7 separate regions of the Homo sapiens genome follow, and regions 1, 2, 4, 5, 6 and 7 are each linked to region 3. The links are contacts of gene promoters, found by promoter capture Hi-C in blood cells and fetal thymus (Javierre and others, 2016). All regions are on one chromosome and are shown on one strand. Each heading gives the region's core, a stretch centred on a gene start or on the middle of the fragment in contact. The rest is flanking DNA. Distances are from core to core; before and after follow the strand shown. Region 1 overlaps CEACAM20 (CEA cell adhesion molecule 20). Region 2 has its middle 17 kb from the start of ZNF285. Region 3 holds the start of ZNF225 (zinc finger protein 225). Region 4 holds the start of SMG9 (SMG9 nonsense mediated mRNA decay factor). Region 5 overlaps ZNF180 (zinc finger protein 180). Region 6 has its middle 11 kb from the start of ZNF283. Region 7 holds the start of ZNF285 (zinc finger protein 285).

Region 1 (2,854 bases), core at 355-2,854, 400 kb after region 3:
TGAAAATGAGAAACTGTATAATAAGAGAGAAACAGCTTCTTGATAGCATTCAAGTCGCCAAGAGGCCCAGGAGTAATTTCTGAAATTGAGTTATCTGATATTTCTCAGTGTTCTCTCAATTAATCCCCATTCGAACTACATTCAAAGGGTTTAACTTTCTTAACATTAAAAATTCTTGACTAAGATATTAATATATGAAACATTCAGCCAGGTGCAGTGGCTTGCGTCTGTAATCCCAATACTCTGGGAGGCCAAGGTGGGATGATCGCTTGAGCCCAGGAATCTGAGGCTGCAGTTGGCCATGATCGCACTACTGCACACAACCTGGGTGAAAGAGCAATACGTTGTCTCAAAAAACTAAAAAGGTGTATAGGATATTCACATTTTTCAAGAATAGTTATCTGTCTGTTAGGCTAAAATCTACCCTTCTTTTACCTATCCTCCATGGTAATTTATGTGCCCTCTGGAACAACAAGGAACACATTTATCCCTCTACTTGAAGCCTGTCAGACACTAAAATATTGGAGTTCTCTGTCCCTAAACTTTCTCTTTTCCAAACCCAAGAAAACCCTGTCAGTAGGACATGGATTTGAGCCCCTGTTCTGGCCTCTCTCTTATTCCTCCTCTGGATAAATTCTGACTGGTCACTGGCTTGTTCAGAATATAGAATCTGAAGTCCATTCTTGGAATTGGAGTAATCTGGCTGTCCTGATGACAGGGTTGAGATCACTTGCATTCTCTAAAATAATTCTACTAGTCCTTAGAACTATGGAGCCATCACTTGACTGCTCTAAACTTGTTACTGGAATTTTGCTTATGCCTGGATGAACTAATAGTTTTCTTCTTTTTTATTTTTTTCTTTCTGAGACAAGGTCTTGTTCTGTTGCCCAGGCTGGAGTGCAGTAGCTCGACCTCAGCTCACTGCAACCTCCGCCTCCCAGGTTCAAGTGATTCTTCTGCCTCAGCCTCCCAAGTAGCTGGGATTACAGGTGCCTGCCACCATGCCCAGCTAATTTTTGTATTTTCAGTAGAGACAGCGTTTCACCATGATGGCCAGGCTGGTCTCTAACTCCTGACCTCAAGTGATCTGCTCGCCTCCACCTCCCAAAGTGCTGGGATTACAGGCGTGAGCCACCGCGCCTGGCCCAGTTTTCTTCTTTTTGAATGATGTAACTAATCATACCTCTCTGTTTTATTGTTACCAGGAAGCTTAGAGACACATAAGAGATATAGTGGCAGATATCACGTAGGCCCAGTATATATTTTTACTTTTTACCCATATATTGACTTCTTGCTATTGTTAAAAATATTTTTTCTGATTGTAATTTCTATTTCTAATTTAACACCATTTTGTAGTGTTGTATATAAACTGCTTCAAATCTTCCATGGGAAAAACTGCTTCAAATCTCCCATGAGAAAAATGTGGGGAAGTAAATATCATGAATGAAATGAAAGATTGGAAAGGAAAGGAAATGAATGAAAAGGAATAGACTATTTAGGAATGTAACTGAAAGAGATGGCAAAGGCATAAATGAAATGGAGGGAAATTGAATAGGACAGAAAGGAATACAATAAAAATTAAAGGCAGAGAATGGAGTGAAATAAAATGGCATGATGTCCAAAGAAGTGCAAATGAAAGAAATTAAATGAAAAGGAAAATTGTAACAGAAAGAAAGAAATAAAGTAAAATAAAATGGAGCAGAAAAGAGAGTAATAAAATAAGGTAATGAGGGGAGAGAAGTGGAGAGGAAATTAGAGAAAAGTAATATAGTAGAAGGAAAGTATAACATTAAAGAATAAAAATAAAGCAACGAAATTAAAAAAAAAACAGAAAAGGGGGGAAATGGAATGCCATGGAATATAAAATAATGAAATGAAATGAAACTGAAATCAATGGTATAAAGAGTAGGAAATGCAAAGGACTGGAAAGAAATGGAAAGAACTTAAATGAAATGAAAAGGAGTGGAATGGAATGACTTGAAAAGAAGAAATTAAATGGAAAGCTTGAAAAGGAAAGTAATAAAGACAAGGGAATGAAGTGCCATAAAGGGCATGAAGGGAGAGGATGAAGTGAGAAAACATGCAGTAGAATGGAATGGAATAGAATAGAGTGGGGTGGATTGGAAAGAAATGAAAAGGGAAAGGAATTGAAGAGAACAGAGGGAGAGGAATGGAAAACAGTGAAATAGAATTGAATGAAAGGGAAGGGTATGGAGAAGAGAAAGTGAATGGAAAAGAAAGAAGGGAATGGGAAAAAAGAAAAATTGAATGGAAAAGAAATATAAAGAATAAGAACTGGAATGTAGTGGAATGAAGTGAAAACCAATCAAATGGAAATGAATGTAAATAGGGACATTGCCTAGGAAGGAATGGAGAGGTAGGAAATAGAACGGATGAAATGGATTAAATATATGGATGGAAATAAGAAGACTGAAATGGGATGGGAAGAATAAGAATGGAAACGAAATAAAGTCGTGGGATGGGAATTGAGTGGGCTGGAATAAAACAGAGTGTAATGGAATGTAAAATAAATGAATTGAAAGGAATTAAAAGAAAAAATAAAAATGGATAAAATGCAATAGAAAGAAAGGAAAAGAATGAAAAGGAATGAAATAAGAAAGAGATGGAAAGGAGTGTAAAGGGATCAAACAAAGCTGAGTGGAATGGAATGAAAAGGCATGGAATGAGCCAGGCAGGGTGGCTCATTCCTGTAATCTCAGCACTTTGGGAGGCCAAGGCGGGCAGATCAATTGAGGTCAGGAATTCAAGACCAGCCTGGCCAACATGGTGAAATCCCGTCTCTACCAAAAAATACAAAAATTAGCTGGGTGTGATGGCTCGTGCCTGCAGTCCT
Region 2 (2,823 bases), core at 202-2,701, 310 kb after region 3:
ATCATCATATTAAGAAATATTACTTTCTAAAACATATCACCATGAAAATAAATGTCAATCAACAGTTTGAAAGTAATTTTCTTGTTAATATATATAACAGGAAAAAAGATCAAAACCTAGAAAAAATACACAAAAAGAGTTCATAGATAAGATGAATACCTAAACAGAAAGAAACAAGGAGTAAATAGCAAGGGAAATACAAAGGAATAAGCTTATAAGAGGATGAAGAGTCAGGGAGATGTGGCTCACACCCGTGATCCCATCACTTTGGTAGGCCAAGGCAGGAGAATCACTTGAGCCCAGGATTTTGAGACAAGCCTGGGCAACATAGTGAGACCTCGACTCCACAAAAAAAATAAAAGAAAATTATCAGGTGCAGTGGTGCACACCTGTAGTTGCAGCTACTCAAGAGGCTGAGGATCTCTTGAGGCTCTGATCCGACCATAGCACTAAAGCCTGGGTGACAGGCTGAGATCCTTTCTCAAAAAAAAAAAAAAAGAAAAAAAAAAAGAGGATGGCCAATATCTCCTACCTGGAAAAATTCACATAACGTAATGCCATAATTGTTCACCTGATGGAAAAAAATAAAAGGATTAATAAGAGCCAGGTTTTTTTGTTTGTTTTTCTTTTCACATGGAGTCTTGCTCTTTCACCCAGGCTGGAGTGCAGTGGCTTCCGCCTCAGCCTCCTGAGTAGCTGGGACTACAGGCGCCCACCACCACACCCGGCTAATTTTTCTACTATCAGTAGAGACGGGGCTTCACAATGTTGGCCAGGATGGTCTCGATCTCTTGATCTCGTGATTCACCCGCCTCAGCCTCCCAAAGTGCTGGGATTACAGGTGTGAGCCATTGCGCCCGGCCTAAAATTTTTTTTTAATTAAAAATTAAATAACTAAAAAATGGGTGAAAGACATGACAAGGCAGTGAAAAGAAAAATGACAAAAACACATCAACTATGACCACCTTGACTGTTAGCAATAAAATGAAAACCAACATCCTTTTTATATATCAAGTTGACAAAGATTAAACATTTTTATTATAAATCATGTGATCCTAAATAGTGTGAGAAAATAGACCCTTTTACATTTTAGGCTCAGCGAAAAAAACAAAAACTGTTTTTCCTCTGCTCTCACATCACAACAATCAACACAGAAGATTCCTGTGACAACATGTCTGGGGATTTCTCTCGGTCAGTCAAGCACACCATCCATTCTGCTGTGGACGCCAGCTGGGTGTCTTCTAATTCAATGATGACACTATCTACCTGGCCATAGCATTAGATTCCACAGGGCTCAGTTCTGCAAGACTCGCCTCCCACTGTAATAACAATGGCAAGTCCTATGTTGTTTTACCTGTGCTTCTGACCAACTGGGTATAAATCAGGTTTCCACCACTCCCTGTTTCAGTTGAATTAATTTGCTAGAACAGCTCACACCACACAGGGAAACACTTACATTTACCATTTTATTATAGAGGATGTTGCAAAAAATTCAGAAAAAAAGATTCATGGGGCCTGGCATGGGGGGAGGGGTGCACTACCTTCCAGGAAGTTTTATCCAGAAGCCCTATAAACCCAGTCCTTTTTTGTTTTTATGGAGGCTTCATTACATAGGCATGATGGGTTAAACCATCGGCTATTGGTGATCAACTCAACCTCAGGCTCTCAACCCTCCCTGGAAATTGGGGTTGAGGCATTGCCATTCTTGGTCTGAGTAATAGAATTTACATAAACGGAATTTTAAAACAGATTAGCATAACTGAAAACTTAATTAGATGGTCTAATTATCTGGAGCCACACCTTGATATTCCTAACCTCACCACCCTCATCCTATGAATGCTCCACCCACCTGGCCCCAAAGTCTCTACATGGTTCCAGAGCAGAAGAATGTTTATACAATGCATATCTCCACTTTTTCTTAAAAGTCTTTTTGCTTACATGGGTAATTCTTAAACTGCCATACATCAGGGTCAGGGGGAAGGCTTGAGAGAACCTAGATTTGTGGATCTCCGGGGCTTGAGGGTTGCAAGGATGCTGCTGGTCTCAAAACCACAACGTGAGAACCACAGCACTAGATAGTTTTCAATGCATTTAATTAATAATATATTTGGCCAACAAAATTTCTAATTTCTTAGATTGTCCCAAATGCGTCACATGACATCAAATCAGGAGAGCAGTTTCCTAGGAGATGGAGCCTGGAAAAGTTGGGGGAGACACATGAAAGGAGGAGTGAAGCTCCGCCCTTTCTGCTGCCAGGCTGCACCTGAGGCTATTTAAACCCACCCTGGCGGGCCTGTGCCCAGATCTTCCCAGAGCAGAGCAGTGGCTGCAGTGTCACTGCAATGGCCACCACTGCCAGAATGGTGTTACATCAGTCTATTCAAAAGGCTCATTTTGTTAATGATTGGCAAGCCAATTCCACCCAAATGTGGAATTCTCAACAAGGCATTGATCAAAAATTGGCTAATCAAATTAATTATTTAAGACAGTCTGTTACTTGGCTTGGAGATTGGGTAGTGAGTCTCAAACATCGAATGCAAATGCAGTGTGATTGGAACACTTCAGATTTCTGTATCACCCCATGTTCCTATAAAGAGACTGATCATTCATGGTAAATGGTCAAAGGACACCTTCTGGGTAGGGAAGATAATTTATCATTTAATTTAAGATAAATTAAAGAAACAAATTTTTGAAGCTTCTCAAGCTCACTTATCCATTGTGCCTGGAGCTGAGGTGTTAGATCAGGTGGCAGAAAATCTTTATGGATTAAACCCCATGACTTGGATTAAGTCTATTGGGGGCTCCTCTGCAGTGAATTTTGGA
Region 3 (2,700 bases), core at 104-2,603:
AGTGAATGTGCTGAGTTTTACAGACCAGTTTGAGGAGGCAGTGTCTGATTTACATAGGGGTCATAGATTGGTTCGATCAGTTATGACGTTTACATAGTGCGTGGGGAAGGCTGGTCGCCCCACCCTAATCTTCTTATGCAAATAGGCTTCCCAGTTGATTGGCCCATCTTGCCAGCTTCTTACTGTGCACGTGGCTGACAAAGAGAAGGGAAGATGGAGCCGCCATCTTTAACATGATTGGCACAACTGCTGGTATCTATGTCTGCGGCAGCTGGATTTTACAGGCTGCTCTTCCTTAGGAAGGGAAATAATTTGGGGCTGCTTTTCATTAAAAAGAAAAGCCTTACCGAGGGCTCCCATACCCTATCTGCCTAAGTGATGGCTTCTTAACTCGTATATATTAACAACACTGTATTCGTACTAGATGCCATTGCCATTGAATTATGTGCCTTAAAATAATTTTGTTTTGTGAATTACACCTCAAAAATATTTTTTAAATAATAAAACGACCACGTTAAAAACGTTTTGCATAGCGAAAAACAAGTCAAAGGAAAAAAGCTTTTTGGTTGAGCAATATTTGATACAATGTTAATATGAGTATGTAAATAATACTTAACGGAGGGGAAAAAACTAAACACTCAATAGAAATGTGGGCAAACTATTTGACCAATTCACAAAGACTATAATAGTGGCAACGGAAAATATGCACGGATGTTCCACTTTATTTACAAAAGAACAAATACAAATTAAAACTACATTTAGAAACCATTTCTTACCATTAGATTAGCAAAACTTAACTCCTCGAAGACTGTGTCTTCTCGCTTGTTCCCTTTCCAATAACACTCCTGTTATCATTGGAGGCGTTTAGACTTCAGAAATTCCTGTCTATTCAGTATTTTCTGTCCTGGACCAGGGAGAGAGAAGGACGACTCTCAGGATAACAGTTCACATTCCCCACTAGGCAGGCGCTCGTGGCTTTGGGATTCGTTCCCAGTGGGCACCTCGGAGTGGCAACGCTTCCCCCTGAAGAATGAGATTTTGAGCGTTTTTCCTTCAGCATTCGGAGGAGTGTAATCCAAATGCTCTGTGGAGTCGTACACACTGGCTCCAGAAGGAGGATACAAGCAATTCTGGGAATGGTAGTCCAGACGCTCAGTGGAGTAGCGGTCAGCTTGGCTCCGGCAGGCGAATCAGGGGATTTCTGGGAAATGTAGTCCAGACGCTCAGTGGAGTCTCGGTCAATTTGACTCCGGCAGGTGGATCCCAGGGAATTCTGGGAAGTGTAGTCCAGACGCTCGGGGTCGTCGCGGTCAGTTTGTCTCAGGAATTCTGGGAAGTGGAGTCCAGACACTCAGTGGAGTAGCGGGCCACTTCCGCTCCGTTACTGTGAGGTTGCTGCAGTTTTGTCCCTGGTAGTTTGGGTCAGTTCCGCGAGACCCTTCTGAATTTCCTGGACCTACGCATTGGATCCTTAACGAACTGGTGATCGAATTAGGGGAAAAGAAACCTCGTCGGAGAGCAGAGGTTTGGCGGAGCGGGGCCGCTGTTTTCGTTCTCGTCAGTGGAGCCTTCTTGGGCTTGGGGCTCTCCTCGCGTCCCCGGGGTGTTTGGGACTTGGTCGGGTCGCGTCTCGCCTGGTTTTAGGGTCTCCGGGGCTCTGAGCTCGCCCACTCGGCCTCCCTGCACCCCACGCGCGTGGCCACTTCCTCGCGATAAAACGCTGGGATGTTACTTAATCTCCTTGGGTCTCCCGTTACAGTTCTTTAAGATGGGGAGTTTAGGACCATCCTAATAGAATCGTTTTGGGAACTGAAAGCGGTAACACAAATGAGAGCCTTAAAGCAGCCCCTGTCACTTGGTGACTGGTGGTCTCTTGTTAATTTCCCACGAAGCCTGTCAGGTCCCCGGGTGGGGTGAAACTCCAGCTGCAGGGGCACCGGCCCTTCTCCCTGATTCCTGCAAGACGCTGGGTGATCCCGGACGCCTTCTGACCTCTCTTTTAGGAAGGCGAGGGTTGCATCCACTTCCAGGAGGGGAGAGGAGCATTTAACTTTTATGGGGCACGGCGACCACGGTCAGAGTGTTTCACAGCCTTCTCCTTACCCAGCCCGACCTTTCCAAAAGAGCTGCAGGGAGGGACTTCTTGGCTTCTGAGGGCAAAGCTCTACGTGAGTGATCCTTGGCTTTTTTCTTTGACAGAGATGCTCACCCCAACCGAGAGTGTATAGGATGTGTCTTCGGGCATGGGTGTTGCTTTCAGTTGTCATGTTTTTCTAGTCTTTAATCTTGAAAGATAGCATAGCTTTCATCGTTTTTTCTTGGTATTTTATCCTTGTTATTTTTGAAGAGTATAGATGAAGTTATTTTGGTCAAAGATGTTCATTTGGAGTTTTTCTGATGTATTTCACGTTTAACTTCAAAATATGCATTTTTTGCTGGAATACCACAGAAGTGGTAAATCTCTCTCTCTCTTTTTTTTTCTTGAGACGGAGTTTCGCTCTTGTCGCCCAGGCTGTAGTGCATGGCACGATCTCAGCTCATTGCAACATCCACCTCCTGGGTTCAAGCTATTCTCCTGCCTCAGCCTCCCAAGTAGCTGGGATTACAGGTGCCTGCCACCACATCCGGCTAATTTTTGTATTTTTAGTAGAGAAGGGATTTCACCATGTTGGCCAGGCTGGTCTCAGACTCCTGACCTCA
Region 4 (2,834 bases), core at 289-2,788, 360 kb before region 3:
TGTGCAAAGTAAGCGCCCCTGTGTGAATGCTTTTCTTTTTTTTTTTTTTTTTTTTTTGAGACGGTCTTGCTCTGTTGCCCAGGCTGGAGTGCAGTGGCACGATCTCAGCTGGCTGCGGCCTCTGCCTCCCGGGTTCAGGCAATTCTCCTGCCTCAGCCTCCCAAGTAGGTGGGATTACAGGTGCATACCACCAGGCCGGGCTAAGTTTTGCATTTTCAGTAGAGACGGGGTTTCGCCATGTTGGCCAGGCTGGTATCGAACTCCTGGCCTCAAGTGATTCGCCAGCCTCGGTCTCCCAAAGTGATCGGATTCCCCGGGTAAGCCACCGCACCTGGCCTCCCTGTGCCCTTTATTCTGGGAGCTTCCACAGTATCTGAATGTGGGGAGTTCCTTGGAACTTAAAAGCCCACCTAAACCAGGTGTGGAGGATACAGTGAGCCGAGATCGTGCCACTGCACTCCAGCCTGGGCGACAGAGCGAGACTCTTGTCTCAAAGAAAAAAAAAAAAAACCCCACCCACATGCAAGCTGGGGACTTCCAATGCTGTTTCCGGGCTCCTTTGGGGATTACCCCCAAACTTAGGAAAGCTGGTCTATTTAAGTGTCTGCTGATGGACTTCTAGGGTGACTTCCCGAAAATTAACAAATCGAATTTACATATTTTTGGGGAGTGTCTCCTCAGTATTTAGGCATCGCTTCACACACTCCCTTCGGGGATCTCCCAGAACCTCACTATTTGCAAATATTTGGGGAGACTCTCCCGATTCCTGAGTATGTAAGCCCACTTCGTGGGGCACTCCCCAGCCCAGAACTGTAGTCGATTTGCACATTTTCCTAAGGACTCCCTAGGATTTAAACTTCTCTCTACGGGGTTCTAGAAGGGAGCCTCCCCCGGATTTAGGCATTGCTTTACAAAGCTTCCCTCGGGGAACCCAACTCAAGTTTCTCGTTACACGTTATTGGGGCGGCCTCCCCAGTACTTGACGGGCAGTTTGCAGGCTGTACTTGGATCTCGCAGAGCATAAGTTTCTCATTTACACGTTATTTCCGTCCCCCGCCCCCATTCCTGCCAACCCAGTATCGAATTGACGGTCGCCGGCCCCCTACTCAGTGCCGCACCCCCGCCGGACGTCCCAGCGACCTTTCAATGGCCAAGGCGGGGGCGGGGCCTGCCGGAGCGCCCCGCCCGCCGCCGGTGCGCTAGCCTCGCGCGGGCTCGCGGCCCCCTTACCTAACGCGGCTGCTGATTGGTTCTCGGGGCGCGGTGTGCGCTCTCCCGTGACGGGAGTCGGGTGGGGGCGGGGAGGCTGACCCAAGCCACCCGCCTGCAAATGGCGTCTGGGGGCCAGGAACGTGGGAAGGAGAGAAAATGGGCACTCCCCACTCCGAAACCGGCCTCGGCGTCCGGGTTGCAGCCCCTAAGGAAAGCTGGGCCGAAGGAAGAAGAGGAGGAGGATGTAACGCGGGCCCGAGCTGAGATCAGTTCCCTCAGGCGACTCGTCCTGCGCATGCGCTGAGGGCTGGAGCTCGAGAACTGAATGCGCTCGCCGGGCTGAGCGTGCGTGGATGGAGGCGGTCGGCTTCAGCACGCATGCGGGTTCCGGAGCGGGAGGCGGGAGGACGCCGCGGCTCTGACTCAATGCGCGTGCGCGCGGTTGGGGGGTTGAGGGTGGGGAGATGAGTAGGGAAATGGATACGCCGAGGAGCCGGCAGGAGGGAGAGCGGCCCGGATCTGGGGTTCGAGTTGTGCCTCTTCGGTGATGTTGGCGGGATGCAGTGGGGTGGGACGACAGGGAGGAATTTCACTGTTCTGGGCTGAGTGCCAAGAACACATGAATGAATCAGACTTGGCGTGCGCCCTGGAAGACACCCCGGCCTGTGGAGAGACTGCCAGGGCCTCAAATCACTTAGGAAAGGGCGCGGGTCCGGTTGGACCTTGAAGGACAGGCAGGCGAGGGTACTCCAGGGAACAGCTAAGCAAAGGCGGCGAAGACCCCGGGGGAAGAGGTCTAGACTGGCTTGGATTCAGGGTCCACCTGGGTGGGAGGTGAGGCAGCAGAATGGGCAGGTCAGACCCTGAAGGGTCTCCAGTGTCAGTTTTATCCTTAAGGCCTGGGAGATGCAGAATAGTCTGAGACAGAACTATGTTTAAAACCCTCGAAGGCCGCGTTGGAGAAGGGAATCCGCTCCAGGGTCGAAAATTTAAACACACGTGGGCGGAGTCTTGCGCGCGCCAAAGAGGAACATTGGGCGACGGGCGCGGCCTGGAGAGCGCATGCGCATTCGGAAGGGTCGGCAGTTCCCCAGTGGGCAGAGTGGGTGGATGGGAAGGTTCTAGCTTTTTATTTGAAATTTTATTTATTTTTATTTTATTTATTTATTTAGAGACGGAGTCTCGCCCTGTCACCCAGGCTGGCGTGCAGTGGCGAGATCTCGGATCACTGCCGTCTCCACCTCCTGAAATTCAAGCGATTCTCCTGCCTCAGCCTCCCAAATAGCTGGGATTACAGGCGTCCACCACGCCTGGCTAATTTTTTGTATTTTTAGTAGAGACTGGGTTTTGCCATGTTGGCCAGGCTGGTCTCGAACTCCTGACCTCAAGTGATCCGCCCGCCTCGGCCTCCTAAAGTGCTAGGATGACAGGCGTGAGCCACCGTGGCTGGTCTAAAAAAAAGTTTTTTAAAATTATATTTGAACAGGTATTACATGTACATACACAATTCAAACCTCTCTGGCTGTATACAATAAAAGTAAGTTTCCACCTCTGGTTCCCATTTTCCTTTCCTAAAGCACTGGTTCCCGGTTTCCTTCTGGAGCTGCTGTTATAATAAAGCA
Region 5 (2,751 bases), core at 149-2,648, 370 kb after region 3:
ATATTATTTAGCAGCCAAGAGAAGAAATAAATTTGCATGTACCGATACATATAAATAATAGAAAGATGTCTATAATATATTGCTGAGTGAAAAAATGAAGAACATTATACAGAAGATGAATAGATTTCTATAAAATATAAATATGCACGGAAAAATCTGGAAAGATGTTCTCAAAAGCATTAAAAGGAGTTATTCTTTGAAGGGGTAGAACTGAGGAGCAGGTTCACTGTCTCTCTTTTAATGCTGCATCCATGTTTTTCAAAACCACTTATTTTAATTAAATATTTGGAAACCAGGAAAGGTGCTTCCCTCTTTAAAAATCACCTTGAAACAACGCAATTCCTTTGTAGTGTCCTCAGGTTTTTTCCTACAGGATACAATAATTCAGTCTGTTAAATGATAGCCCATTCAAGGATACTTTGCTCCTCCTCAAATCAAACACTGAAAAGCAACTACTGCTAATTTTTGATAACTCATTTCTTTAGAAGCCATTGGATCAAAAACTAAAAGAAAATAAAAGTGGCCAGGTGCAGCAGTTCATACCTGTAATCACAGTGCTTTGGGAGGCTGAGGTGGAAGGATCACTTGAGCCCAGGAGTTCGAGCCCAGCCTCAGCAACACAGTGAGGCTCCCCTGTCTATACAAAATATATAAAATAGGCCGGGCATGGTGGCTCACACCTGTAATTCTAGCACTTTGGGAGGCCGAGGTGGGCAGATTGCCTGAACTCAGGAGTTCGAGACCAGCCTGGTCAACATGGCGAAACCCCATCTCTACTAAAAATACAAAAAAATACAAATTAGCTAGGTGTGGTATACCTGTAGTCCCAGCTACTTGGGAGGCTAAGGCATGAGAATCACCTGAACCGGAAGTTGGAGTTTGCAGCAAGCTGAGACCATGCCACTTCACTCCAGCCTGGGCAAGAGAGTGAGACTCCATCTCAAAAAATAATAAATAAATAAATAAATAAATAAGCCAGGCACGGTGGTATGTGCCTACAGTCCCAGCTACTTGGGAGGCAAAGATGGGAGGATCACTTGATGTGGAGAGGTCAAGGTATAAGTGTGTCAATTTTTTCTCCTTATCTATCTAGAAAATATTTTACTATTACAGTAGGAATGGTTATTAAAAATGGCTAGCATTAATGTATTTAAAGGTAGGAAAGGATTCTCCAAACCTAAAAACACCACTGTATATTTACTGGGTAGGTTGTGAGGTTCACAATAAGTATCAAAGAGCCAGAGCTGCTGCAATGTAAAGAAGGCCCAATGTGAAAGCCAAGAGGTTGTGTTGCTTGCATTACTACCACACATACTACAACAGTTAAACTGCCTTTTTATTTTTTGTAGAAGACAGGGTCTCGTCATGTTGCCCAGACTGGTCTCAAACTGCTGGTCTCAGCGCCATGACAGTTTTGTCAGGAAGTTACCCTCTATGGTCTAAAAAGGAGAGGAACCCTCAGTTCTGGGAATTGCCCACCCCAGTCCTGGAAAACTCATGAATAATCCACCCCTTGTTTAGCAGAAAATCAAGAAATAACCATAAAAATGGGCAACCAGAAGCCCCTGGGGCTGCTCTGCTTATGGAGTAGCCATTCCTTATTCTTTTACTTTTTTGTTTGTTTGTTTGTTTTGGTTTTGGTTTTGAGACAGAGTCTCGCGCTGTCCCCAGGCTGGAGTGCAGTGGCATGATCTCAACTCACTGCAACCTCCACCTCCGGGGTTCAAGTGACTCTCCTGCCTCAGCCTCCTAAGTAGCTGGGACTACAGGCGCACATCACCACGCCCAGCTAATTTTTGTATTTTTTGTAGAGATGGGGTTTCACCATGTTGGCCAGGATGGTCTTGACCTCTTGACCTTGTGATCTGCCCACACTGGCCTCCCAAAGTGCTGGGATTACAGGCGTGAGCCACCGTGCCCAGACTACTTTTAAAAATAAACTTGACGCCCTCGCCCTCGCCCTTGCCCTCTCCCTCTCCCTCTCCCCACGGTCTCCCTCTCCCTCTCTTTCCACGGTCTCCCTCTCCTTCTCTTTCCACGGTCTCCCTCTCCCTCTCTTTCCACGGTCTCCCTCTCCTTCTCTTTCCACGGTCTCCCTCTCCCTCTCTTTCCACGGTCTCCCTCTCCCTCTCCCTCTCTTTCCACGGTCTCCCTCTCCCTCTCTTTCCACGGTCTCCCTCTCCCTCTCTTTCCACGGTCTCCCTCTGATGCCGAGCCGAAGCTGGACTGTACTGCTGCCATCTCGGCTCACTGCAACCTCCCTGCCTGATTCTCCTGCCTCAGCCTGCCGAGTGCCCGCGATTGCAGGCGTGCGCCGCCACGCCTGACTGGTTTTCGTATTTTTTTGGTGGAGACGGGGTTTCGCTGTGTTGGCCGGGCTGGTCTCCAGCTCCTAACCTGAGTGATCCGCCAGCCTCGGCCTCCCAAGGTGCTGGGATTGCAGACGGAGTCTCGTTCACTCAGTGCTCAATGGTGCCCAGGCTGGAGTGCAGTGGCGTGATCTCGGCTCGCTACAACCTCCACCTCCCAGCTGCCTGCCTTGGCCTCCCAAAGTGCCAAGATTGCAGCCTCTGCCCAGCTGCCACCCCGTCTGGGAAGTGAGGAGCGTCTCTGCCTGGCTGCCCATTGTCTGGGATGTGAGGAGCCCCTCTGCCTGGCTGCCCAGTCTGGAAAGTGAGGAGCGTCTCTGCCCGGCGGCCATCCCATCTAGGAAGTGAGGAGCACCTCTGCCCGGCCGCAACCCCGTCTGGG
Region 6 (2,700 bases), core at 55-2,554, 300 kb before region 3:
AAGACCTGTCTCTAAAACAAACAAACAAACAAATGAAGTGAAGATCTCCAATCACAGCTCTGTACACCAGGATTTACCTTCACCACTGCCTGTAGGACCCACCTCTGAGTAGTGGTCCCGTAATATGATAATTTAGGTTCAGCTTCCAAAATACATCAGTCACACTGATCCATCTGTGAGCCAGACCTTTTCTTCCTTAATATTCTACAGGAAAATCTTCATATGATGTCATGAATGTGAATTAAAGGAACAACATAGCTGCAACCAAGGTCAGTGACATGAGAGTCTGAGCTGTCTGTGTGTGTAACTCTTTTGTGCCATCTAGATCTCTTACAATGAATTAATACTGTGCCCAAATCGCACTATGACTTAGTGGGTTAGATACCCAACTCATGACAGGTAGTTTTAGTCATATAGATACTTGATGTCCCATGGTCAAAATCACAGACTCTATTAGTACTCAGCAGCTGGTTTTCAAATTGAAAGCACTTATATGCTGCATAATAAATGGACTTACTTCAGAACCTTACGGGCTGTAATTTTGCTTTTGTATCTTGCCAGAGACTCCACATAACAGCTTCAACCATTATGGATAGAGGTGACACCATCAAAGTTGCTGATTCATGTGGCTCAGGGACAGGGAGATTGCATCGCAGGCTTTACCTGCTGTAGAGCTCTCACCTGCTTTGAAACTCAGCAGCCTTCAAGTTTATCTGAAAAATGAGTCAGAACAAAATTCCAGGCCAGTCATGATGGGTCACGCCTGTAATCTCAGCACTTTGGGAGGCCGAAAGTGGGGGGATTGTTTGAGGCCAGGAGTTTGAGGCCAGCCTGGGCAATATAGTGAGAACCTATTTCTAAAAAAAAAAAGAAAGAAAGAAAAAGGAGTTTGAGACCAGCATGGGCAACACACGGAGACCCCGTCTCCACAAAAAATTTAAAAACTAGCTGTGCACGGTGGCATGTGCCTGTAGTCCCAGTTACTCGGGAGGCTGAGGTGGGAGGATCTACTTGAGCCAGGGAGGTCAAGGCTGCAGTGAGCTGTGATCATGCCACTGCACTCCAGCCTGGGCAATAGAGCAAGACTCTGTCTAAAACAAAAACAAAACCAAAAACCAGCTATAAAAGACACCTAGAACTATTAAAAAAAGAGAAAAAAAGAACACTATTCTGAAGTGTGATTTATATATGTATCATATAAATCATATATGTTATATATAAACACACATCTATATATACCCATCTATTATTTTTATTTTATTTTATTTTATTTTTGAGACGGAGTTTCACTTTGTCACCCTGGCTGGAGTGCAGTGGCGCGATCTCAGCTCACTGCAACCTCTGCTTCCCGACTTCAAGCGATTCCCCTGCCTCAGCCTCCTGAGTAGCTGGGACTACAGGTGTGCACCACCATGCCTAATTTTTGTATTTTTAGTAGAGATGGAGTTTCACCATGTTGGCCAGGCTGGTCTCGAACTCCTAACCTCAAGCGATTCACCCGCCTTGGCCTCCCAAACTGCTGGGATTCCAGGTGTGAGCCACCACGCCCCACTCTATCTATCTATCTATCTATCTATCTATCTATCTATCTATCTATCTACCTATCATGTATCTATCACTTTCAAATGTCAAAGAGCCCTACCAAATTATGTGCCTGTTTATCAGTTTAGGAAGTGTGAGTTGTAATAACTTATTCTTTACCTTAAGGGAGATACTATGGCATGTCCCAGATGATTGGACTTCTAAAATCTTCACTGATGTGGTAAGTTAGTGAACATTCATGAGGTTTATCTCCCTCTTTCTGTCACTCATTTGCATTACTATGGCTTCTACAGTGATTGCCACTTCCTGATCACCAGGTCAAATTAGCATGATTTTATTGGTGGAATGAACCAGTGCTATGTTCTTCAGAATGTAAAGATGATCAAGGCCTCTGTGGACTACAATATGACGGAGATTAGGAGGGTTATCAGGAACCTGGGGCAAGACAGTGCTGCAGTCCTTACCATGCACACATGAATGGCTTTTAATTCTCCTAAATGTCAGAGATCAAGTAAAATACATTTGTCAGATCATTAAGCACATACTAAGGACCAAAAACTAGGTTGGTCAACTCCAGTAAAGATGTCACATCTGACATAGCAGCTGAAATTGGAGCTGCTATTTGTTTACATTTAAAGTAGTCACTATGAATTAGCTTTGGCCACATAATAAGTGATACGGTTTGGCTGTGTCCCCACCCAAATCTCATCTTGAATTGTAGCTCCCATAATTCCCACATGTTGTGGGAGGAACCCGGTGAGAGATAACTGAATCATGGGGGTGGTTTCCCCCATACCGTTCTCATGATAGTGAATAAGTATTATCAGAGCTGATGGTTTTATAAGGGGAAACCCTTTTTGCTTGGCTCTCATTCTCTTTGCTGGCTGCCATGTAAGATGTCTCTTTGTTCTCTTTTGCTCTTCTGCTATGATTGTGAGGCCTCCCCAGGCATGTGTAACTATGAGTCCATTAAACCTGTTTTTCTTTATCAGTTACCCAGTCTTGGGTATGTCTTTATCAGCAGCATGAAAACAGACGAAAACAATCAGTAACCCCAAAACTCAGAGGCTTGAAATTACGAATATTATTTCTCACAATTCTGGGGGCTTTCTGAGCATTTCTTTTGCTCTGGGCTGGTTTGGCTGCAGCTGCATAGTA
Region 7 (2,871 bases), core at 58-2,557, 290 kb after region 3:
GAATGAAGACCTAGAGGAAAAGTGCAGCTGAATCTGGAACTGCAATTGCCCAGAAACACGATCAGAAATGTAATAAATGCTGCTATTACACCTAAAATAATTAACACTAAATCTCTAACTTTATCAAATATACAGAGAGTGTTCAAACTTCAAATTTGTTGAGTGTAATTTAACAACTTATATTTGCTAATGTGCTTTATAATACTCAAAGTCCCTACTCCCTGGCTCACAGCATGTGAGGTGAGAATGGAGTTAATAATTTGGGGCAGTTCTTTTCTTTTCTTTTTTCTTTGAGACAGAGTCTGGCTCTGTCGCCCAGGCTGGAGTGCAGTGGCGTGATCTCAGCTCACTGCAAGCTCCGCCTCCCGGGTTCACGCCATTCTCCTGCCTCAGCCTCCCGAGTAGCTGGGACTACAGGCGCCTGCCACCGTGCCCGGCTAATTTTTTGTAATTGTTTTTTGTAGTAGAGACGGGGTTTCACCGTGTTAGCCAGGATGGTCTCGATCTCCTGACCTCGTGATCCGCCCACTTTGGCCTCCCAAAGTGCTGGGATTACAGGCGTGAGGCACCGCGCCAGGCCTGGGACAGTTCTTTTCAAAATGTATTCGGTGACATTAAACTCTGGAGTTATTACAGTATTACAGTCTGAGTTGTTTCTTTATTGCCAAAAGCCAGAACCTCTGCCTTGAAGTCATAAATGCCCCAATGGAGTCAGAGCTGCCAAAATCCAGAGTTCAGACCCAAGACAACTCCCCATCCAAGAACCTAGGGGTGCTGAGCCAGAATCGCCCCCACCAAACTGAGCGAGAACAGCCGAAGCCATCCTCTATATCCAGAGACTAGCTGCTTAAGCAAATCCCTCATCCCATTCAGGGACGCACAGTCCAGCCATTACTCCAAAACCCTGAGCCAGCGCCCCTCTGCCCTCATCCAGAGATGCACATCCCAAGACTGACCCTAAGCTTCGACCCGAGGAGGCACAGCGCAAGTCGCTGTCACGAAACGTGAAGATGCACTGTTTTGTCAAACCCAGGGCTGCTCCCCAAACCGAGCCCACGCTCGAGCCCACGCTCTTCCCATCCTATCCCGGGTAGGTCGGGCCGCTGAACTTCCCTAGTCTACCCCACCTACGAGGCCTTATCATTGGTTACCAGTCCCCTCTTCCACTCCTCCTACTTCAGTCCACAGGGACGGGTCACAGCTGCACATCCTACACTCCTACTCCTGGCTACGCCTCCAAGAGGGGCGCGGTACAGACGGGACTCACCCCAGCGTCCCAAACAATGTCGCCCGCAGCGTGCGTCCAGTACCATGGCGCATGCGCAAGGAGGCCTATGGCCTACAATCCCCAGAAAGCCCCGCGCGCAGCAGTGGCCATTCGCAAGGCTACCCTGGTGAAGGTGGCCTTTGACTTCCGTGCATTTGGAAGTCCTTTGACTTCCGTGCATTCGTCTAAAATAACGACAATCATAATAACGATAAAATAATGAAATGTTAAATAAATCACTATCAACGATGAAAAGAAGTTTCAATATTTTACTACTTGGAAATGGGCACTTTACCGTTTTAGTGAAGACTTTTATAAGTTCTTATTTTATAGGCATGTCTTTTAACGTTAAAACCACGAAACTTTTCAATTAACACTCACTTAAATAATTCCCTCCCCGCCCCCCACCATGTTTTATTTCTGTTGATGAAAACTCTGGATAATCTACACTTGCGATATAACATAGCCCTGTAATTTATTTCCTAGTCTCAGAAGAAGCAGAAGGAATTAACAACTATTGTCTGAATCCTTAACAGGGGAATTGCAGGAGTACTGAGAGTGTCCTAAAAGAGACACATTACAACATAACAAGAAAACGCGGGAAGTTTTCAGATTCTTTTTGAAAATTTGCCCTTGTTGAGACTTAGGCTTTATTTTACTTCATGTTATTGCATTTAAGATTTAAGATTTCTATTAAAGAAAAATTTGGGTACCCTAAATGGGGTAAGAAAATTGAATAGGAATTCCATTAGAGGCCCACAGTTTTAGCCTGGAGGAAAGCCCTGATAACGTGTGAGAACAATCTGTCTCCTAGGAAAGGTCACCTGGTCCTGCTGGCAGAGTCTCTGTTTGGAATATCTGGCTGGCATTCCCTTTTCCACGCACCCTCAAGCTGTAGGGGTGGTGAGGCGGTTCCAGTCCTAGACTAGATAGAGAAGTGAAGACCCCCACCTCTACGCAATGGGCAGGAAATGGTTGAATAATATCCAACTATAGCTTGACATCGCAGCTTAGGGCACATAAAGGGACAGTGCAATTGTTTTGGCTTATCTCTGTCTTTTGATGTTTACATGTTTGATGTTCTTATATATTGCTCTAAGTTGAAGGATTACTTGATTTAATTTGACATACTTGAATTTTAAAAAACGAGTTCAGGAACATTTTTATTTTTGACCTAATACAAGGTTAATTTTTGTGACATCTGTGTCTGTTGGAAAACAATGTGTCTTCTCTATCAGATGGATATGCATACATTTATATTTTCCCCAGACTTGCTAACTGTGCTATTTAAATTTCCTACATGCTTATTTGTGCTTACTTAGATTTTTTCATTATGCATCTGTCAACGATTGAAAAGTGCATGTCAAAAAGGTTCCCAGTCTGGGCGTGGTGGCTCAAGCCTGTAATCTCAGTACTTTGGGAGGCCGAGGTGGGCAGATCACGCGGTGAGGAGTTCAAGACCAGCCTGGCCAAGGTGGTGAAACCCCATCGCTACTAAAAATACAAAACTTAGCCAGGCATGGTGGCAAGCACGTGTAGTCCCAGCTACTTGGGAGGCTGAGGCAAGAGAATCACTTGAACCCAGGAGGTGGAGGTTGCAATGA

Evidence for each region. Contacts are between HindIII fragments. The CHiCAGO score rates a contact against its expected background, and 5 or more counts as called.
Region 1: a fragment that was not itself captured here is called in contact with the fragment with the promoter of ZNF225 in region 3 in 10 of 17 cell types (erythroblasts, fetal thymus, monocytes and 7 more); the score reaches 14.0 in erythroblasts.
Region 2: a contact is called between a fragment that was not itself captured here and the fragment with the promoter of ZNF225 in region 3, in 1 of 17 cell types (erythroblasts). The highest score is 6.2, in erythroblasts.
Region 4: a contact is called between the fragment with the promoter of SMG9 here and the fragment with the promoter of ZNF225 in region 3, in 1 of 17 cell types (total CD8 T cells). The highest score is 5.2, in total CD8 T cells.
Region 5: a fragment that was not itself captured here is called in contact with the fragment with the promoter of ZNF225 in region 3 in 15 of 17 cell types (naive B cells, naive CD8 T cells, total CD4 T cells and 12 more); the score reaches 13.1 in naive B cells.
Region 6: a contact is called between a fragment that was not itself captured here and the fragment with the promoter of ZNF225 in region 3, in 2 of 17 cell types (erythroblasts and M2 macrophages). The highest score is 7.3, in erythroblasts.
Region 7: the fragment with the promoter of ZNF285 here is called in contact with the fragment with the promoter of ZNF225 in region 3 in 14 of 17 cell types (total B cells, naive B cells, naive CD8 T cells and 11 more); the score reaches 21.0 in total B cells.

Annotation. Positions count from the first base shown.
Region 1 is chr19:44,507,544-44,510,397 of GRCh38, forward strand. All of the region lies in intron 11 of CEACAM20 (CEA cell adhesion molecule 20), which reads right to left. Among named protein-coding and RNA genes, the nearest start is that of ZNF180, 8.4 kb to the left of the region's middle. The HindIII fragment of the contact is 794 bases long and covers 1,208-2,001 here.
Region 2 is chr19:44,416,976-44,419,798 of GRCh38, forward strand. No RefSeq gene overlaps it. Among named protein-coding and RNA genes, the nearest start is that of ZNF285, 17 kb to the left of the region's middle. The HindIII fragment of the contact is 2,484 bases long and covers 210-2,693 here.
Region 3 is chr19:44,112,046-44,114,745 of GRCh38, forward strand. ZNF225 (zinc finger protein 225) reads left to right here and starts at 1,354. Exons shown (of 5, transcript NM_013362.4): 1 at 1,354-1,524. It overlaps ZNF225-AS1 (ZNF225 and ZNF224 antisense RNA 1), which reads right to left and starts at 1,138. Exons shown (of 2, transcript NR_033341.1): 1 at 777-1,138. RefSeq lists a silencer at 1,065-1,415 and an enhancer at 1,108-1,807. The HindIII fragment of the contact is 4,811 bases long and covers 557-2,700 here.
Region 4 is chr19:43,753,424-43,756,257 of GRCh38, forward strand. SMG9 (SMG9 nonsense mediated mRNA decay factor) reads right to left here and starts at 1,539. Exons shown (of 14, transcript NM_019108.4): 1 at 1,231-1,539. RefSeq lists an enhancer at 470-729 and a silencer at 960-1,319. The HindIII fragment of the contact is 6,293 bases long and covers 915-2,834 here.
Region 5 is chr19:44,486,101-44,488,851 of GRCh38, forward strand. The region is part of intron 2 of ZNF180 (zinc finger protein 180); the gene reads right to left. Among named protein-coding and RNA genes, the nearest start is that of ZNF180, 13 kb to the right of the region's middle. The HindIII fragment of the contact is 7,682 bases long and covers 1-2,751 here.
Region 6 is chr19:43,814,481-43,817,180 of GRCh38, forward strand. It overlaps a transcript of LYPD5 not described here. Among named protein-coding and RNA genes, the nearest start is that of ZNF283, 11 kb to the right of the region's middle. The HindIII fragment of the contact is 4,808 bases long and covers 1-2,700 here.
Region 7 is chr19:44,400,301-44,403,171 of GRCh38, forward strand. ZNF285 (zinc finger protein 285) reads right to left here and starts at 1,308. Exons shown (of 4, transcript NM_152354.6): 1 at 1,268-1,308. RefSeq lists an enhancer at 705-1,461. The HindIII fragment of the contact is 3,728 bases long and covers 961-2,871 here.